3 separate regions of the Homo sapiens genome follow, and regions 2 and 3 are each linked to region 1. Evidence: promoter capture Hi-C in 16 types of primary human blood cells and fetal thymus (Javierre and others, 2016). All regions are on one chromosome and are shown on one strand. The core of a region is centred on a gene start or on the middle of the fragment in contact, and the rest is flanking DNA. Distances in the headings are between cores, read along the strand shown. Region 1 holds the start of RBM17 (RNA binding motif protein 17). Region 2 has its middle 29 kb from the start of LINC02656. Region 3 holds the start of LINC02656 (long intergenic non-protein coding RNA 2656).

Region 1 (5,159 bases), core at 945-3,444:
AATTGGCCGAGCATGGTTGCGAGCGCCTGTAATTCCAGCTACTCAGGAGGTTGAGGCCAGAGAACCATTTGAACCTGGGAAGTGGAGGTTGCAGTGAGCCGACTTACACCGCTGCACTCCAGCCTGGACTATAGAGTGAGACTCTGTCTCAGGAGAAAAAAATATATGTATATAAATATATATATAAAAATATATAAATATATATAAATATATAAATATTTATATATTTATATACATATATATGGCAAATATACCCAGAAAGGAACAGGAGGGGTGGTGCACTTTGGTGTCCGCAAAAAATACAGCTTAAAAAGCATCTACCTCAAGTATAAGATCTACCATGACTTTCTAAAGAATTAAAAAAAAATTTTTCCCATACCTCCATCTGACGCCCTTGTCAGTTTAATCTTTCCATTCAATCCCACCCTCTGGCTGTTACCAAAATGCCATAGGCTAGTATTGCAAACACAGTCCACTACAGTCACCTGTAATTTAGGCGAATAACAGAACTTCCTTCACTATTGACTATTATGAAAGGTTTGAGAGATGACTAGCCTGGGATCATCTGTTCCCTGCTGGGAGGAGGTCTGAAAAATTCATAGGCAGGGGAGAATGGGAAGGTAAGTTAAAACAAACCAGGTAAAAAGAAATCCACTTTAAATAAAGCTGCATTTGGAAGTGTACAACAATTCTCTCAAGAGCCTCCAGAAAGGCTGCCTTTGGTTCCGCAGAGCTCCACAACCGCACAACCTGCTCTGTTATAAACTGGACAGCACGCAGCACCTTGCTTAACTAACTCTAAAAATAAAGCCCTCTCGTTTAGCTCACTAAACTGTTACCCCATATTCCCTAAAAGCTGTCATTACGATCAAAATGTCTGCAGCCTTTACAACTAAAAATGTGGAAACTTGTGTTGCATCCTTTTAAAAACTCCATCTGCTGCGGGGAGCCAGTGCACATCTACCCATCTATTTGAGTATATGCGAATCTTGCCCTTATCTAGAATATCCTATTTCCCATCCATATGCCTGGCTCTAGCAAAATAAGGACCCTCAATGGCGCTTCTTTACTGCTTCTCAAGAAACCTCCATGTTCTGACCTGACTACTCCTGGAAACACAGCAGCCCCTCCTCAAACCTTTCTTTCTGCCTAACCTGCAGCTTCCAGAACGCACTACGGGGCTTCGCTTCTGCTACTTTCGCACTTACTTCCTCCGCCGGCAGCCTTTTTCCCACCTCTCACATCTAACAACGTACCTTCAAGACTCAACATAAGCATGACCTCCTCTCTCAAGAGAGGTCCTTCCAGACCCCACTTGCGTTTCTCAAATCAACCCGGGCCTGGGTTTTCACGCCTGCTTTCCCAGAAACCAAACTCCTGCAAGCAGGGGCAGAACCTCATTCCACCTGCATTCTCCGATCATTACACATTCTCGGGGCAAGAGGCGAAGCTCAAAGACTGCCTGGGGTCGGACGTGAGCGCTGAAACACCGCTCAAACTGCACGAGCCGAGGCGACGCCGGGGTTAGGGCTGCATTCCTGTCCCGGGCAGCTCCGGAGTCTGAGAAACGCCAACGTCTGCACTCCCAGTTCTGAGACCCCGGGAGGAACCGGCTCCGAGCCCCAGAGAGGGGCAACCGTGCAGGGCCAGGGGGGACACGCTACGGGCTACTCGGTTCTGGTGACCAGACAATTTCGTCAGGATGCGGTGCACGAGACGGAGAAGAAACGCTCTTCAGCACCAAACAGCCCGAGGCAGACATGAGGAGGAGGAGGAGGAAGGGAAGAGGGAGAAGGTCAGGGCCAGGGTCACCAGAGGCGGCGGCGGGCGGAGGGTACCGGGCCGCAGCCGCGTGGAGAGACCAGCGCCCGCCGCGGGGACTGAGACCCTCGGAGGCTCCGGCTGCGCTGGCCCGGCCTCCGCCCCTCGCGACGGGCCTAAAGCCGCGGGCTTGCGTCTAGCGCCTCCCGGGAAGGCGCGCCCGCCTCAGGTCCCGCCAGGCCACCCACCCGGGGCCGCCGGGGCGCCACTTACCCGGCCCGCCCGGCCGACTCTGCCCATGAGCCGCGCCGGCGGCAGAGCGGAGCCGGGCGGCACTCCGCGGAAACCCGCCAGCGGCAGGAGGCCTCGGCGGCGCCCACCCTTCGCTGAGTCCTCAGGGCGCTCGGCGGCGCGGGGTCAGGGAGCGCGGGCTGCCGGGAGAGCGCGCCCGCGCCTGCGCCCCGCCTGCGCCTGCGCCTGCTTCGGCCTCTGCGCCTGCGCCGAGGGCGCCTTGCCGCACTGCCCCCTGCCCGCGGGAGGACCGCACTGCACGCTCCCCTCCGCCGGCGTCTTCTTACCATCAAGAGGTGTCGCCCTGGCGCACATTTTCGAAATTCCACAAGGCTTGGGGAGCGCGGCAGCGCCCCCAGATGGTGAGGAGGAGAAGTGGTCCGAGGCCGGGCTTTCTGATAGGGGAGGTGGGGGAAGTCCCTCCAGGCCCCTCGATCTCATTCATTCAAAGCCACTCCTATATAAGCAAAAAGTTGAAAATAAGTCTGCATAGGCCAGATGCTGCAAAAGGATGGCAAGGAGCACGAGGTTAAGCGTAAGATTATGGAAACAGATGCCGCGATTAGGGGTACAGAAAAGAATGTCAATGCTATAAAGCCTCGGTCTTTAAAAACGACGTCGCTGACAGAAGCAGGGAGGGAAAGGGAAAGTGGGACTTCGGGTAAATATGATTTTTACATCTGTAATTAATTGGGTGTCAAATAGAGTTCAAGCCGATAAATCAAATAGTAGAGATTTAAGCAGACGTCTTAGTCCGAAGGAGTATACCAAGAAAGTTACTATAATCCATTAAAATCCAGTCATTAAGAAAACGGGAAAAGGGGGAAAAAAGAAATACAGTGGAGAGACAAAAGACAATCTAAAGAAATAGAGGATTAAGGACGTCATGGGATGGTATGATTCTGAGGGTAACCCAGAACAAAACTACAAAGCTTTCAAATAATCCACACATACATGCACCCACACATACATGCATGCACACACACACACACACACACAAAACCACAGCAAAAAAAATATATATATAGGGAAATATTTTAAAAAGTTACAAAACAGAAAGCGTAACCAAACTATATGACAGAACAAGACCAAATGTCTCACAAGAAGAAATATAGACCTAAGCTTACCTACTAAAAAACTACAATCTCAGATAGGAGCACAAACCATCATGCAACTCAGTGTTGTATACAAGAAAGTGCTAACGTTATTCTGAGTTTGAAAATACAAGATTGGAAAAGATATACCAGGAATATGCAAAAAAATTAAAAAAATCAGGAATCACAAACCGCTTACTACAAAGTTGATTTCAGGGCAAAAAGCATTAAGTAAGATTAAGAAGGACATTTTATAATCTTGAGGAGCACAATTCACAATCAAGAAAAAAATAGGAAAAATAGGAAAATCTTTGCACCAAATCACATAATCTCATTATTCATAGCAAACACTGTAGGAGTGAGTGAATAGACAGAAATAATTGGCACACTCCTTGCCAGACGAAGAGTACAAAAAGTAAATGGGGATTGAGAAGACCTAAAAATACAATTCCTATGATAGATCTAATATATCAAACACTGTCCCCTAAATAGACATTACATCTTTTCCAGTGTCTAAGGAATATTCACAACAATTAGTCATATTTTAAACCACAGAGAAAAATCTTAACATAGTCCAATAAGTAGAATCATATCGGTAATATTATCTGCAGCAATTCAATAAAAGTAGAAATTAATGAAAAAACAGAAAATAAAACATGCCTACCCCTTGAAAATTTTTAAATGCTTAAATAACACTTGGACTAAAAAGGAAAACAAAATCAAAATAACATAATATCTAGAAAAGTATGAAAATGACATACTCATGGGATTTAGCTCAGAGAGTACTAAGAGGAAAATTCATGGTTTTAAGTTTTTGTATCAATTAAAAACTTGGAAAAAGCTAAATGAATTAAGCACTTGTGCAAGAAACTGGAAATAAAATAAAAATGTGAGAAGCAGAAGGACGTACTTGGTCAATAAAAGAAGCAGAAAGTAATAGCGTGTAAACAGAAAAAGGAAGAAGGGCAAAGATAGAAGGTGTCTAGACTGGGTCTCTCCCCACCCCGTGATCAAAGCACCGGTGGGGGTGCAAAAGCCCTGATTAGGAGGTCCAGAGCTGCAGGACTTCCTCCAGGTTGAACCTGCTGTCTACCTGTACTCCCTAATCTGCTTGGCGTCTCCACTCTGCAGTCTGAGACCACTCCTTCCTCCCTTTTTGGTTGAAAATTTGTGCCTTTGTTCCCAAATCATTCCATCATACATACACAAGTAACTTTTTGGTTTACAGACCATAGATGCAATCACATCCATTGTTTAGGAATTTTCTAGTTTAACTTCCAGGAGGAAAACTGCCTTACTTCATTTCCTAGTACGTGAGCAGTCTCATGCTTGCCTCCATTTCCTGTCAATAGTAACAAATATCATCTTTATTTTATGCACCGAGAATCCAAAGCTTAACCCAATGGGGGAACAGAACCCAGGCCATGCAACTATCAGAAAGCGCACACAAAACGGTGGAGCTTTAGAAGAGGGACAAGACAGACGCGCTGGAGCGCCCCCTCGGGGCTGCAGAGCAAACATCGGTAGTGACTCCTGCGTAAACAAGTCGTGTGATCTGCTCCAGCTGTGCTCAGCGCCTGGCAGGAGGCTGGCAGGCAGCAGATGGTAGAATTCATCGGAAACTGGGAATTAGCAGGGCAGATGTTCCAGGAAGAAAGAAGATAAGGGCGGTGTTTGGGCTGGCAGGAAAGGCTGGGTGAAATGCTACAGTATGCAGCATGGATGGAACCGGGGGACCCCGAAACAGGAAAAGAAAGGGGTGTGGGCCCTGGAGGGAAGACAAGCTAGTTAAGACAATTTGATCAGATTATAATTTGATCAAAAACAAGTATTCCCAAGGATTCTGTGTGTAGGGATGCTTTCGGTGCACCGTGGAGAATGATTTTTGTCTCCTTTTTTGTATCTTTTTTTTTTTTTTTTTTTTTGAGACGGAGTCTTGCTCTTGTCACCCAGGCTGGAGTGCAATGGAGTAATCTCAGCTCACTGCAACCTCCGCCTCCCGGGTTCAAGCGA
Region 2 (5,159 bases), core at 1,412-3,911, 290 kb before region 1:
ATGGAGAGACATGGTGATATGGTTTGGCTGTGTCCCCACCCAAATCTCATCTTGAATTCCCACGTGTTGTGGGAGGGACCTGGTGGGAGGTAACTGAGTTATGGGGGCGGGTCTTTCCCGTGCTGTTCTTGTGATGGTGAATTAGTCTCATGAGATCTGATGGTTTTATAAAGAGGCATGTTCCTGCACAATCTCTCTCTGTTTGCCTGCCACCATCCATGTAAGATGTGACTTGCTCCTCCTTGCCTTCTGCCACGATTGTGAGGCCTCTCCAGCCATGTGGAACTATAAGTCCATTAAACCTCTTTTTTTTCCCCAGTCTCAGATATGGCTTTATCAGTAGCATGAAAACAGACTAATGCAGTAAATTGGTACCAGTAGAGTGGGGCACTGCTGAAAAGATACACAAAAATGTGGAACTGGGTAACAGGCAGAGGTTGGAACAGTTTGGAGGACTCAGAGGAAGACAGAAAAATGTGGGACAGTTTGGAACTTCCTAGAGACTTGCTGAATGGCTTTTACCAAAATGCTGATAATGATATGGACAGTGAAATCCAGGCTGAGGTGGTCTCAGATGGAGATGAGGAACTTGTTGGGAATTGGAACAAAGGTAACTCTTGTTACGTTTTAGCAAAGAGACTGACAGCATTTTGCCCCAGCCCTAGAGATTTGTGGAACTTTGAACTTGAGAGAGATGATTTAGGGTATCTGGTGGAAGATTTCTATTTCTAGGCAGCAAAGCATTCAAGAGGTGACTTGGATGCTGTTAAAGGCATTCAATTTTAAAAGGGAAACAGATCATTAAAGTTTGTAAAATTTTCAGGCTGACAATGTGATAGAAACAAAAATCCCATTCTCTGAGGAGAAATTAAAGCTGGCTGCAGAAATTTGCATTAGTAATGAAGATCTGAATGTTAATCACCAGGACAATGGGGAAAATGTCTCCAGGGCATGTCAGAGACCTTTGCGGCAGCCCCTCCCATCACAGGCCTGGAGGTTTAGGAGGAAAAAATGGTTTCGTGGGCTAGGCCCAGGGTCTCTCTGCTGTGCGCAGTCTAGGAACTTGGTGCCCTGAGTCCCAGCCACTCCACCCATAACTAAAAGGGGCCAAGGTACAGCTCAGGCTGTTGTTTCAGAGGGTGGAAGCCCCAAGCCTTGGCAGCTTCCACGTGGTGTTGAGCCTGCAGGTGCACAGAAGTCAAGAATTAAGTCGACTCTACCTAGATTTCAGAGGATGTATGGAAATGCCTGGATGCCCAAGCAGAAGTTTGCTGCAGGGGTGGGGCCCTCATTGAAAACCTCTGCTAGGGCAGTGCAGAAGGGAAATGTGGGGTCAGAGTCTCCACACAGAGTCCCTACTGGGGCACTGCCTAGTGGAGCTGTGAGAAGGCCACTGTCCTCCAGACCCCAGAATGGTAGATCCACCAACAGCTTGCACCATGTGCCTTGAAAAGCCACAGACACTCAACACCAGCACATGAAAGCAGCCAGGAGGGAGGCTGTACTCTGCAAAGCTATGGAGATGGAGCTGCCTAAGACCATGGAAGCCCACCTTTTGCATCAACATGACCTGGATGTGAGACATGGAGTCAAAGGAGATCATTTTAGAGTTTTAAGAATTGACTACCCCGCTGGGTTTCAGACTTGCATGGGGCCTGTAGCCCCTTTGTTTAGGCCAATTTCTCCCATTTTGAATGGCTGTATTTACCCAATGCCTGTACCTCCTTTGTATCTAGGAAGTTACTAACTTGCTTTTGATTTTACAGGCTCATATGCAGAAGGACTTGCCTTGTCTCAGATGAAATTTTCAACTGTGGACTTTTGAGTTAATGCTGACATGAGTTAAGGCTTTGGGGGACTGCTGGGAAGGCAAGATTGGTTTTGAAATGTGAGGACATGAAATTTGCAGGGGGCCAGTGGCAGAATGATATGGTTTGGCTGTGTCCCCACCCAAATCTCATCTTGAATTCTCACATGTTGTGAGAGGGGCCTGGTGGGAGATAATTGAGTCACAGGGGCAGATCTTTCTTGTGCTGTTCTCATGATAGTGAATAAGTCTCATGAGATCTGATAGTTTTATAAAGAGGAGTTTCCCTGCACAAGCTCTCTCTCTTTGCCTGCTGCCATCCTTGTAAGATGTGACTTGCTCCTCCTTGCCTTCTGCCATGATTGTGAGGACTCCCCAGCCATGTGGAACTATAAGTCCATTGAACCTTTTTCTTCCCAGTCACAGGTACGTCTTTATAAGCAGCATGAAAATGGACTAATACACATGGTAACCACCCACTCATTCAAATAATAAATACCTGGGGAAGAAATATACATTGAGTGTTTGCTGTATGCCAGACTGGAACATGCACTAGTCAACAAAGATGAATAAGACAGGCCCACTGTCTCTCTCTCCTAAATACTTGTAGTCTATGTGAACAATGAACCACAGTGAGGCCAGGTCTATAAAGTCCAGTGATGTGCTAGAGCCAGCTTGTACCAACTCTTTTTTTTCCCCAGGATGGAATGCAGTTGTGCAATCATGGCTTACTCTCAGGCTCAAGTGATTCTCCCACCTCAGCCTCCCAAGTAGCTGGAAATACAGGTGTGTAGCACCATGCCTGGCCTGAATCAACTCTTGAGAACTGACATTACATATCTCTTCCCAGCTGCAAGTTCAGAAATCTCAAGTTGGTAGCTTGAAAGCAGCCATGGTGGGAGTATTTATACTACAGAAATTGGCAAACACCACAAATCAGGATTTTGGTGGTGTTGGTTTGGGTTGGGTTTTGTTGGCTTTTTCTTCATTTCTTTTTTGAGATGGTGGTTTTTTACCAGCACACATCTGTCTGTAACATTAGAGTGATTGAATTGCTGTAGCAGAGAGCACATTTTTCTGCTTTTAGGTGGTGGGATAAGGCTTTACATAAGAGATGGCATCTTGGTGGCACATTTCAAGTTGAGTAGCCTTCTACCAGGCAGCAAAAGAGGAACAAAAAAAAACCCAGAAAGAATAACATAAGTAAAGCCATAGAAGTTTCAAATTAAAAAAATAAAATAAAAAAAAATTTAAAAAAACCTCTATGGATTCAGAGGAGGAAAGCACTACAGTTGCTGAGCTGCCTGGGGAAGCCCAATTGGTATCTAAAGACTAGCAAGGTGATATGGTTTGGCTCTTTGTTCCACCCAAATCTTATCTCGAATTTTAATCCCCTGGTATTGAGGGAGAGACATGGTAGGAGGAGATTGGATCATGGGGATGGTTTCCCCCATGCTGTTCTAGTAATAGTGAGTCAGTTTTCATAAGAGCTGATAGTTTAAAAGTGGCAGTTCCCCCTTCACTCTCTCTCTCTCTCCCGCCACCATGTAAGACATGCCTTGCTTCCCCTTCACCTTCGGCCGTGATTGTAAGTTTCCTAAGGCCTCCCTAGCTATATAGAACTGTGAGTCAATTAAACCTCTTTTGTTTATAAATTACCAAGTCTCAGGTAGTATCTTTATGGCAGTGTGAGAATGGACTAATACCCGAGGTCTTCAGTAGATGGATGGGGGCAGCAGTGGGAGAGGAGCTGCGAGAGGGGGAGCAAGCTGGCTATCAGCATGAGCAGAACAAACTAGGCTGCTTAACTCAGTGGGGCAGAGGAGACTGTCAGCATCCTTTCTCTGACCCCTTTGATAGTTCTCCCATCATCTTCCAGATGAAAGGAAAACTCCTTAGCCTGGCAGGCAAAGCCCTGCAGTTTCCGCACACATCTCCCACCAGCCCCAGCACGGGGCCTACCCTCCTGGGCCATTCATTGTCCTCCTGACCCAGGCTTTTACTTTCTCACTCAGGTTTTCTCTGCCTACTGTAATTCCCTTCTTCCATCCTCCACCTTCTCCTGGAGAACTCCTACACAGCCTCTAAACCTCTTCTAACGTGACTCTTCAAATACTGCATGTTTTCATTCATAAGTGAGAGCTATAAAGGAGATCTCATGAAGATACAAAGTAGATTGGTGGTTACCCAGCTAAGGAAGGGTAGGGGGAAAAGCGGGTGAAGAAAAGATGATTAATGGGTACAAATATACAGTTTGTTAAGAGAAACGAGACCTAGTGTTAGATAGGTCGGTAGGGTGACACAGTTTACAATAATCTGTTGTGTGTTTCAAAATAGAAGAGAAGAATTCAAATGTTTCTAACATAAAAGACAAATATCTAAGGTGATGGATATCTCAAGTACACTGATTTGATCTTTACAAATTATATGAATGTATTAAATTGTCACATGTACCCCAAAACTACATACATCTATTATGCATCAATTAAAAAAAAAACATTTGGCCAGGTGCAGTGACTCATGCCTCTAATGCCAGTACTTTGGGAGCCCAAGGCAAGAGGATCACTTGAGCCCAGAAGGGCAGCTGGGCAAAATAGCAAGACTCCAACTCTACAGAACATTTAAAAATTAGCTGGGTGTGGTGGCACATGCTTGTAGGCCCAGCTACTCAGGAGGCAGAAGTGGGAAGATTGCTTGAGCCTGGGAAGTCGAGGCTGCAGTGAGCTATGATCACACCACTGCACTCCAGCCTGGGCACAGGGCAAGACCCTGTCTCTAAATAAATAAATAAATATATAAATAAATTAAGAACTTTCACAACTCCCATTCCCTGATCCTGTCCATCATCAAATTCCCCAAAAGTCATATGTGTTTCGTTGCAATAATAAACACTTAATGAACTGATGGAGGCTTATGTATGTCACTTGTCTCCCTACCAAAGTATAATGTTCTGTAGGGAAAGAATGCTGGGCTGTCTTCTCTCTGCACCTACAGTATCCGATACAGTGCTTTCTGCTGAATAAGGGATCAGTAACTATTTACTGAACTGACTTGAAGAAGTGGGGTAGGGTTGGGGAATGGAGCACCTGAAATTGGTGAAGACCATAAGGCTCACTGTTAAAAGTTTGCCAATGTCAGGTGTACACTTTTTCCATTTTTTTCTGACTGTTTTCCATCTTTTCTGACTGTTAAGCTAGGTTGCAGTTCATCCATGAGGACTCAACCACATGAGTACACAAACCACATTTAAGATGGTTCAGGGGATACACTTAGTGTTTGCCTAGGTTTTATTTTCCACCTGACAGTTATATTTTATCTGCATAAATGGCCAACATTGATTTTGCCATTTCTT
Region 3 (5,159 bases), core at 1,434-3,933, 260 kb before region 1:
TCCATGCTGCTGTGGGGCCCACAGGTAATAGATGTCCACAAATAAAAAAAGGTTTTCTAAATATAAAAATCATCCATAATTCTTTGTAGAAACTGTGAAAAAGAAAATACAAATGTAAATAATAAAATGTTAGTAATAATTCTAGCAGCACTCAGATACAGCCACCATTGGTGTATTTTTCTAGATACTGAGGTCACCTTGTAATTTTGGTTTACAAAATTTACATACTTCATGCGTGGTTTTGTGAACTGCTTTTATTTCATTTGGTTTTATATTGGAATCAATTCACCATGACATTTAATAGCCTTCAAAACAGGATTTTTGTAATGGCTGCGTGTTAGTCCATCATATTAACATTTATTTATACATTCCTCTATTTTGGACGTAACAGATACTATTTCGGAAGATTTGTTTTTTATAATCTCTCTAAGATGAATATTTTTCTCCTAGAATGTAAACACTATAAAGGCAGAGAGTTTGTCTTACTGATCACAATACCCTCAACCCCCCAGAAGTGCCTGACACATAGTTGGAGCTCAACAGGGATGGATGGATGGATGGATGGATGGATGGATGGATGGATGGATGGATGGATGGAAATGTATATTTGTATTTACCTCTGATAATTTCTCAAAAGTCTTCTTAGTTTGAGCACTAACATTGATTCTCTAGTTATGCTTGCTACACAGAATACAGGGCATCTATTTATCTGAAAATATTCATTATCCCATATTGTACTAGAGCCATATCCATTCTTTATCTGACACATCTGAAATTAGTTGTTATTTATCTGAAATTCAAATTTAATTTGATGTACCACATTTTAATTTGAGAAATCAGACAAACCTAGTTCTTAACATACCACCTTCACAAGACAGCCTGGCTAGAATACTCCACTGGTCTCTGAGCAAAAGCCTAATCCCCTTAAAGAGTCTAAGCCCATTAACCTATAGCAGCCAAACTGAGTGCTGTAAACAACCTCTATTTTTGAGCTCCTGATCTTCTCCATTAGTCAAGACAAATTAGAAAAACAATAAGAAAGAGAACAACCCATCATGACAATGGAAGAACCAGGCCATGATCTTTCCAAGCACAAACTGCAGCATTTTAGCATCTTCCCAGCACTGCTTCCCTGTCTATCCCTACCTGTCCTCCCCTGCCTCTGACATTAGTCATCATGATGCCTTCCTGCTTCTCCAAGGGACTCAGGATCTGATCCTTGCCTCCCCATCCAACCACCTGCCTGCCTGCCTGTCTCCCTCTCTGCACTCCAGCCAGCTTGCATGTCTCTTCGTTCCTCCCCTGCACCAGGCTCCTTCTTGCCACAGGATCTTTGCACATGCTCTGGCTTCTGCTTGGAAAGCCTTCTCTGTCTCCTCCTCCCTCCTCCCATTCCTTGGTTAACTCTTAGTCATCCATCATCACAGCTGCAAAGTCACTTCCCTAGGGAAGCTGTCCCTTTTTGCAGGCTGGTCAGCTTCCTCGGATCTAAGCTGTTAAAAGTTCTGTGTATTTTCCCTTCTCTACACTTACCATAGTTGACATTTTATTTTTGCTCTGGGATTATTTGGTTAATGTGCTAGAATCAAAACTCCAGAAGGGCCAGAACACTATGGCTTTTTTTGTTATCACTATGTTCCCAGCACTCAGCAAAAGAAAAATAAAAAACCAGACCCTCATTGTCACCTAATGGTGGTACTGTAATTCTCTCATTCCTTCCAAATGTATCAGCTGAATTTTTCAATAAAGAAGACATTTCCCTTATCAGCTCTTCCGTAACTGTGAGGTACAGTTTATACAAGAAAAGCAGAATAAATGCTTGAATTTTCCCCTTCTATTTACCAGTTTTCAGAATAATCAGAGGTGACAGACTCCTCCAAAGGTAACAAATGAGTTTGGTTTTACCGTTTTGAGTATTATGAATTCATGGATGTATACATGTTGATGTGTTTCAGTCCACTAAAGTCATTATTCTTTGGGATGCTCAAATTGTCTCATTGTTGGCCAGTAGAAGCCTGGGCCCTTTTGCCATGACCTCAGTTGTCTTTAATAGCTGTCCGGCTTGTATGACAAGACATTCTTGGATCCCCTTGTACAGCTCCTGACACCAATCTGGTTCAGCTATTTCTTCAAGAAGGCCTGGTTCCTTGTACATTCTTATTCACCTGTGGTTTCAATTCCCTAGTCTCTAAAAGAAACACTACAAATAGAAATTCTGTTCTGATTTTTCTCCTGTACAGCGGACCTGTATACCTAACAGATGACTGGGCATTGCCATCTCTGCCCACAACACACATCCTGAATTTGACTTGTTTGCACATGAAGTCATCATCCCTCCCCAAGATGGGCTCTCTATTATGCCTTCCTTGGGGATCAGTACTTGGAGTCGGGTCAGGGCAAGATACTGTTAGTGACATGTGGAATTCAGCCACACCATCATGAGAAGGTCCTCTCTGTGTGTTCTGGCTAAACCAGCCTTCTACCAGGTTAGCACGATTCTGGGCTTTGCAACATTCATGACCTGTTTGAGGGCACTGAAGGAGATGCTCAGCCACATCCCTTAATTTGCATGAGCCTGTAGGAAAAATATGTTTAAGAAGTCTGGCTGTCTGAGCAGGCCAAAGGAGAAGATGGAAGAGAAGGTGGTTTCCTGAAAGCATGAAGCTGTATCTGTTCATATTTTGACACCATCCCAGGAAGAAGAGGCTGAGGTAGGAAAGTACAGTCAGCTCTGGGAGTTCCCTCTGGAGAAGCTGGCTATGAGACGTGGAAGAAGCTCCCCAGCTGCAGTAGAAGGCACGAGAAGGTTTCAGGCTTTCCAGGTGGGCGTAGAATGGGCAGCAGCACAGGCATAACCTGGAGTGGCACAGGTGCCAGGGAAGAGGGCAGACGCCATGCGTGACATAGCAAGGGGATCACACCGCATCCATTGTGCATGAGACCACTTTTCACCACCCAGGCGACTCAAGGAGATAACTGGATGGGTGGTTCCAGGAAAAGAATGGACATCCTGCTAGGCCATCATATGCTGTCTCAGAGCACTGAGGTTTGATAAATGTGGTGAATTTGGAGGCACTCACAGCTGAGTCCCAGCACAGAGTGGGCACATAAGCAACACCATTTTCTCATTGCCCAAGCCAGCCCCTGCCCACAGCACCTCCACTTCCCAGAGCCACACCCAATCAATGGCCAACTTATGATTCTAATCTTGAATGTCTGTCGAGATCTTTTCCTTCTCCATCACTAAGCTCTCTCCTTTAAGTAAAAATTTTTCTCCTGGAGGAATGCCTCCTGGCTGATGCTTCTGCAAATCACCTCACTTCTCTTCAAGCCCTCCTCTGTTACAGACTATTCCAAATTTTTTTTTGTTTTTTTGTTTTTTTGTTTTTAACTTTTGCCTACCTTGTCGGCTCACGCCTGTAATCCCAGCACTTTGGGAAGCCGAGGTGGGTGGATCACCTGAGGTCAGGGGCTCTAGACCAGCCTGGCCAACATGGTGAAACCCTAGCTCTACTAAAAATTCAAAAATAAGCCGGGTGTGGTGGTGGGTGCCCGTAATCCCAGCTACTCAGGAGGCTGAGGCAGGAGAATCGCTTGAACCCAGGAGGCGGAGGTTGCAGTGAGCCAAGATCGAGCCACCGCACTCCAGCCTGGGTGACAGAGTGAAACTCCATCTTAAAAAAAAAAAAAAAAAATGCCTACCTAAATCTAACGTAAAACTTTGAGCTCACTCTGAAATATATTCATATTTACTTACAAGGGGAAAATGCCCTATGAACTGAAAATTATGTGTATTTTAGAACATACACAAAAGAGAAGTTAAAAGAAAATGAGAAAAATAAATAGATGTGATAATACTTTATTTCATTACTCCGATTAATAGTCTTACCAAACTCACCCGAAGACTGCCTGCAAAGTTCTTGAAGGAGCTTGGGATTGTAGGTGCTTTTGATGTTTTATTCAGACTGGACTAGATGCTTTAACCCTGAAGGTGCATCTTACGTATCTAAAAAAGACTTCCCTTAGGGCTAAACATAACAGAAAAGTGATGAATGAAGGAATCTGTCCAACATGTCATCTTTGATTGAAGATAAATACATTCATCTTATGGTTCTAGCTCTATTAAATTGAGTCTGTTTAATACACCCTGTCTGCAGCTAAACTAATTATTTCAGGCTGGATTTTCAATTTCTTACCTAGCCCTAGGATAAAACACAGAGTTGAATGGTTACGTAATCACCAGGTGCCGCTCAAGTGGTGATTTTTCAAATCAAGTATGGATCTCAAAGAAGAGAAGCAAATAACAACAGAGATACTTCTTGTGCTAGGGCCCTGGTTGCAGGACGGTGTCCCACCAGGCTACAGCTCTTAAATGGCAGAGCTGCTGCTGACACCTCTGTCGTTCTTGCAAGATCAAATACCAACTGCGTTGACTTCAAATCTGGCTTAAAAATAGGCCTAGCAGGCATAGTTTTCTCATCAAAACAAATTAGCCTAAAAAATAGCATTCCGAGAGACCAAGGGTTAGGAAAATTGTCCTGTGAGTGTTTTGAATTCTTTGTCACCCTTCATAACTGGTGCCGTTCATGAGGGAGCTTATTGGCTTGGGGGATGACAACTTGAACAGCAAAACAGGATGTGTCACCACCAGGCCCCCTGCTCTGCTGCAATCTACGAGAATTAATCAGTTTTGGGTTTTTTTGTTGGTGGTGACGGTGGTTTTTTTCCTTTCTTTCTTCCTTTTTTATGTCAGCGTCTCAGATGGGCACACACTGAAACAGCTTCTTATTTGCATGCGGTGTGGCCTGGCGAGGGTGAACTGAGGACACGCAGAGCTCCCTCTGACTTGGCACCGGCAGGAAGTCGGCGGCAAGAAGCTACCACTTTTCAAGCCTGGGTGGCTTTTTCTTTTTTCTCTGTCATTCATTTTGGAAGAAAGCATAAGTTTGATTTCAAACAGAACACAAAAACTTGGAAGGAGGGCCAAACACAGGCAGGCAGATGATTCTTGTCCCCACTTTTACTTTTTTAAAATTTAATTGGAGATGCTGCAGAGGTGGCAGAAAGGGGCCAGAGGATGGTAGGTGCAGACTCGCTGCGGTGACAATGCCCCGGGCATCCCCTTTCTGCACAGTGGGGCACGGCATCCAGGGGCAGCC

The links. Contacts are between HindIII fragments. The CHiCAGO score rates a contact against its expected background, and 5 or more counts as called.
Region 2: a contact is called between a fragment that was not itself captured here and the fragment with the promoter of RBM17 in region 1, in 1 of 17 cell types (activated CD4 T cells). The highest score is 6.9, in activated CD4 T cells.
Region 3: the fragment with the promoter of LINC02656 here is called in contact with the fragment with the promoter of RBM17 in region 1 in 1 of 17 cell types (neutrophils); the score reaches 5.6 in neutrophils.

What each region holds. Positions count from the first base shown.
Region 1 is chr10:6,086,069-6,091,227 of GRCh38, reverse strand. RBM17 (RNA binding motif protein 17) reads right to left here and starts at 2,194. Exons shown (of 12, transcript NM_032905.5): 1 at 2,035-2,194. RefSeq lists silencers at 1,463-1,522, 1,793-1,882, 1,893-2,332 and enhancers at 698-1,536, 2,493-2,542. The HindIII fragment of the contact is 5,297 bases long and covers 1-2,986 here.
Region 2 is chr10:6,376,551-6,381,709 of GRCh38, reverse strand. No RefSeq gene overlaps it. Among named protein-coding and RNA genes, the nearest start is that of LINC02656, 29 kb to the right of the region's middle. The HindIII fragment of the contact is 6,566 bases long and covers 1-5,159 here.
Region 3 is chr10:6,347,840-6,352,998 of GRCh38, reverse strand. It overlaps LINC02656 (long intergenic non-protein coding RNA 2656), which reads right to left and starts at 2,683. Exons shown (of 1, transcript NR_148966.1): 1 at 1-2,683. RefSeq lists a cis regulatory region at 4,489-4,989. The HindIII fragment of the contact is 13,073 bases long and covers 1-5,159 here.